Regions from separate parts of the Homo sapiens genome. Here region 2 is linked to region 1. Evidence: promoter capture Hi-C in human tissues and cell types (Jung and others, 2019). All regions are on one chromosome and are shown on one strand. The core of a region is centred on a gene start or on the middle of the fragment in contact, and the rest is flanking DNA. Distances in the headings are between cores, read along the strand shown.

Region 1 (2,700 bases), core at 9-2,508:
AGCTGCTTAGCCAAGGTTGTATCCAAGTGGGTAGATCAGTTTTTTAAAGCCTTCAGACCCAAATTTGCTGAAGTGTTTTCTGTTTTTCTTTGAAACAAATTAAAATTTTAACAATTTTTTACCTGTTGCTACCCTAAAAGAAGTCGACGTCAGGTTTTTCTCTGATTATGTTTCTCATTGCGAGTCTACTGCTGTGATTTCCCCTTAACATTCTTTTTGTGAATGAATTGTAGAAATCAGAAATGGGAAAGGCTTGAGGCTTGTCGGCCATGAAATATACATGTTGAAGAGCAAAGGAGAGAAGTGCTTGGCCGACAAGGCTAAGACCTCACACTTAGGAGTGACCCAAATGTTTCCTGAAGATGGTAGAAGAGTGAAAAATCCCACAGGCTCTGTAAGTGACATCAGAAGAGCAAGAGTTGGGGGAGAGCGTGAAGCTGGAAAGGGAAAGTTTTCAAGTGATGAAGATGAGTAAATGATGCATTCCTGGACTCTTCTCATTTCATAGGCCGGAGGGGCTAAAGGAATTGGATTGGGAGCCAACAAGAATTTGTTTAGAGGTTTCTAGTATAATATAATTACTTCAACACATATGTATTGAGTGCCTTCTATGCTCCAGATCCTGTTCTAGGCACTGGGGATACATCAGTGAATAAAATAGACAAAAATCCCAGCTCCATGGAGCTTATATTCTAGCAAGGGGAGAAAAATAACATAGATAAGAGAATAAGTTCTGTAGTATGTTAGAAAATAGATGTTAAGGAAGAAAGAAAAAGTAGAGCAGGAATGACTGCTTAGTGGACATTCACGAGGTTCCAGTGTGCTGAGCATTTTACATGCATTATTTCATTCAATCTTTGCAAGAGTGTTAGAGGATTCCCATGTCACAGATGAAGAAACTGAGGTTGAGTAAAGTGAAGTGATTTGTCAAAGGTCATGCTTCAGTAATAGTAGAAGCAGGATTGGAACTCCTCAGACTGTTGACCACACCCACGTGGCATGAGAAAGGCACCAGGGGCCACCATCTTCCTTACCCATCTCCCATCCTTGTCTGAAGGTGGGTTGAAGCGTCGCCCTTTGGTCATTCTCTCCAGGAAGCTGAATGTGGCTGAGATTGGCTCCCTCACCTCTCCATAAGCTCTACATGTCTGGGAAGCTGCTTCCTAAACTTCATAAGCTCTACACGTCTGGGAAGCTCCTCCTCCTCCTTGTTCCTGATCTTTACTTCTCAGCCTCTTCCAGGAGGGGAAGGTGCGGGTGCCCATTGTTGTCATGGAATGGGAACTCACCCATCACAATGGGCAAAGGAGTCTTCTAAACCCTCGGAGGATTCTTGCCACTGGTTCCTTGCAGCTGTGACTCCCCAGGGTAAGAGGCAAAGAGCCACCAGGTCCCAGCTGAGGAAGCCCTGTGGTCAGCTCAGACAGGTAAGGACAAGATGATTTGGGGGTAATGGCAAACATTTTGTACCCTCTCAATTTTTGAACCAATAATGTTTGAGTTGCATGTCCCCCTGGCAACTGTATGTTCCAACCTGTTAGTTTTCAGAGAAGTAAGTTGAGTCCCAGGCTGGGGGTGACCTTGTCTGCATCAGTGGCACTGCTGCACCCAGGACCCACGCTGCCTACCATCTCCTTCTGTGGCAGCCTCTGTGTCTCAGCTCGGACCCAACCTCAGGACTCACTCACAGCCACTCTTACCTGCCTGGCACAGCATTGAGACCATGAGGAAGTAACACTCATGAATAATTATTATATGCCAAGTGCTGTGCTAAACTAAACATTCACCTGTTTTTATTTTTTCTCCACGACAACCTTCAACATTTACAAATAGGAAACAAGGGACATACAGCAATGGATGGGATGCCACAAGTCCCAGCAAGGTCATGGGCCAGCTCCAGAGCTCATGAGCCTTGCCAAGGGCCACCTGGCATCCCCAGGGCTGCAAAGGCTGCTCGTGAAATCTGGCGTTTCTCTCGGGGCCTGGACACACACGTCCTGCCTCCCTTCTACTCAGTAAGGTGTTTTCTGCTTTTCTTTCTTTCTTTTTTTTTTTAATGTTGTGTCTTGCCAATTCTCTTGGCTACTCCGTGTGAATACGAGAGTAAACACATGCAGGACAACCTGTCCAGCTGCTCTCTCACTCAGAAATTGTGTCCTCCACCCTTTCCTCCTCCAGTCACCCTCCTAGGTTTTCCAAGGAGAGTTGCTGTAGTAGTGATAGAGGACCTTATCCACTGCCAGCACTGAAGGGCCAGAGGTGGCCCTTAGATGTGACACCGGAGATGCACAGGTCCTCTTGCACTATGATGCCAAAAGCCACATGGTAAGGAGAGGAGGAAAAGGTGGTGGGCCACCTCTTTTGGTGTTGCAGAGCTGCTGTACCAGGCAATACTGTTGTGTGTGGAGTAAACCCTTCCAGGATTTCTGCTACCTGCTGACAAACCCAGTGCAACAGACACTATTTTTCACCTTTACCAGGCATTGCCCACTGCTCTCCAAAGCCCAGGTGTAAAGAAATACTCCCAGCAGCAGCAGTGCAAGGGAGTTCTGTCGTCTCACAGCCTTGCCAAGACGCACTATATTGATTACGAACAAATTTGACTGGGACAGGAAACCCGAACTAACAGGGGCTTAAACATGATAGACATTTATTCTCTCTGCGTAGTGAAGTCCAGAGGGAAGTAGTCCAGGCTCGATA
Region 2 (2,700 bases), core at 136-2,635, 100 kb before region 1:
CCCCAAACTCGTTCCTGCCTCAGGGCCTTGGCACATGCTCATGCCTCTATCTGTCTCCTCCCCAACTCGTTACAGAAAGGACTCCTGATTAGTCAGATATTGACTCAAAAATGCCTTCCTTGGTGAGGCTTCCCTGAATAACTTCTGCTTTACTTCATTTCTGGCACACTCATTCTTGGAAAGAAGCTTGCCGTATTAGTCCGTTCTCATGCTGCTATAAAAAACTGCCTGAGACTGGGTACTTTATAAAGAAAAGAGGCTTGATTCACTGTTCCTTATGGCTGAGAAGGCCTCAGGAAACTTACAATCATGGTGAAAGAGGAAGCAAACACGTCCTTCTTCACAAGGCAGCAGGAAGGAAAAATGCAGTGGGAAGGGGGGCAAAGCCCCTTATAAAACCACCAGGTCTCATGAGAATTCACTCACTATCATGAGAACAGCATGGGGGAACTGCCTCCATGGTCTAATCACCTCCCATGAAGCCCCTCACCCAACACGTGGGGATTACAATTTGGATTACAATTCAAGATGAGATTTTGGGTGGGGACACAGTCAAATCATGTCACTTGCTTTCTCATTCCTTCAAGCCCATCTTCTTGCTCTGATTTGGTTTGGATTTGTGTCCCTGCCCAAATTTCATGTTGAATTGTAATTTCCATTGTTCGAGGAGGGTCATGATGGGAGGTGATTGGATCATGGGGGTGGATTTCCTCCTTGCTTTTCTCATGATAGTGAGTGAATTCTCGTGAGACCTGGTTGTTTAAAAGTGTGTGGCGCCTTCCCTTTTGTTCTCTTCCTCCTTCTCTGGCCATGTAAGACATGCCTGCTTCCCCTTGACATTCCACCATGATTGTAAGTTTCCTGAGGCCTCCCCAGCCATGCTTCCTGTACAGCCTGTGGAACTGTGAGGAAATTAAACCTCCCTTCTTTATAAATTACCTAGTCTCAGGTAGTACTTTAGCACAATGTGAGAATGGACTAATACAGTCTCCCCAGTTTGAAGTAAGCTTCTTGAAAACAAGAATGTTGTTAGATGTTGGTCAACATGATTTAGAAAGTACCTGTTGGGTACTTAATAAATATTAGTTGAATAAAAGAATAAATGAACATGCAGCTCTGAAAAGGCATGGTCTGTATTATTAGACATGGAGGAGGATATTTTGGAGTGTCAGCTTCTCTCCAACCAATGGCTGCTTGGTTTTTACCACTAGTTTCTTGCACATTGGACTTGTCTTTAAACCATGAAAGGATCCCTTTAACACTCATTAAAGTCAGGCAAGTGAAAGTCTTATTTCTAGTACAGGAAAGCAAAAGCGTGACTCTAACTAAAATGTCAAGTGCCCTAAGGTGTGAAAAATATTTAAAAACTTTCCATTTGCTCTTTTGTGGTAGTACCCTTTGTCAAAAGGTTTTCTCCAACTTTATTCATGCCTGATAAATGGAAGAGGAGAGTTTTCCCAGAATACCATAAAATACACCAGCTAGACAGGGCTATGAGATTTAAGTGGCTTCCTGCCTGTCCCAGTGCCTGGAGGGGTAAAGGGGAGGAAAGAAACTTTTGAGCTTGAAGACTGCTGGAGGGAAGAAAAGAGAAAACATAAACTTAGGTCCCAGAAGCTTCTGAGATGGAAGGGATCAGACCCCAACCCTTGTCACCAAGGGCCCACATTACTGAAGCCCGCTAGGTGGGCTGGCTGGTCCTGGTCAAAGTCCAATGACCAGAAAGGGTGCAAGCTTCTACTGACCTCAGCCTCCCGCTTCCAGTTACAGGCCCCATCCCTCTGACCAGGGGTAGGGAAATGACCCATCCCGGCCCAATCATAATCTTCCATCACCCTGACTACCATGATTGGCATAGGGATGGTCACATGACACAACCAGGCCCATCAGAGTCCTTTCCTGGGACTTTCCTGCCTGGAGCTGGAAGGGAAGAGTCCTCTATAATCTCTAAGGACCTCAACCCAGAGTGGCCTGAGATGGAGCAACCTGAAGAAAGCCCACTTGCTGTCAGAGAGAGTGAAAAAACCAGCAGACACAGACAAAGGAGTCCCAAGGACATTTGTGCTCAGAGTAGAAGGTGTTGGTGCCCACTCCATAGCCCCGGCCCACCTGAGTTCTCTAGCAGCAGCAGCCTAGGGACAGCTTCCCTCCCATCTCAAGTCCCCACATGTTTCCCCTCTTCCTGAGGCCTTTCTCCACCTTGTTCTGTCTCTGATGCAACCAGGCACACCCTAAACAGGGAGATTAGGTTCCCAGGGGCAACCCTCAGTCGGGGACGGGAGTTGATTGACAAACACCCCCAGCCTCCCATTCTAGTACCGAGAAGATGCTGATGCTGATGCGATGGCTTCTCAGAGGGTCCCTACCAGAAAGGCCCTGTTGCCCCTAGCATAACTCACCACTCAGGCACATCTTCCTGGGTAATTCATCCTCCCAGGCGCATCCTCCTGCGTAACTCGCCCCTCGGGCACATCCTCCTGGGTAACTCCCCACTCGGGCATATCCTCCTGGGTATTCTCAATTTCCTGTCCCACTTTTCCCCCAGGTCCTTACAAGGACTTTCTGGAAACACCTTTTAAGTAAACTACCTGCACTCACCTACTTCTCTCAGAGTCAGCTTTTAGGGAACCCAAACTAATCAGGAATGGCCTGTCTGTGGATTATCCCTAAAGCCAGTTCAGTCTCTGCCTTTTTCCCCCC

What was found. The method cuts DNA at HindIII sites, captures the fragments that hold promoters and counts their contacts. A contact is called where the count stands out against the background at its distance.
Region 2: a contact is called between a fragment that was not itself captured here and the fragment with the promoter of TEX36 in region 1, in 2 of the 25 tissues and cell types used here (mesendoderm cells and thymus).

What each region holds. Positions count from the first base shown.
Region 1 is chr10:125,681,905-125,684,604 of GRCh38, forward strand. It overlaps TEX36 (testis expressed 36), which reads right to left and starts at 1,259. Exons shown (of 4, transcript NM_001128202.3): 1 at 1,035-1,259. The coding sequence starts at 1,085. LOC283038 (a long non-coding RNA gene) reads left to right here and starts at 1,339. Exons shown (of 5, transcript NR_033848.1): 1 at 1,339-1,427. The HindIII fragment of the contact is 13,590 bases long and covers 1-2,700 here.
Region 2 is chr10:125,578,965-125,581,664 of GRCh38, forward strand. It overlaps a transcript of TEX36 not described here. Among named protein-coding and RNA genes, the nearest start is that of TEX36-AS1, 5.9 kb to the left of the region's middle. The HindIII fragment of the contact is 4,573 bases long and covers 1-2,700 here.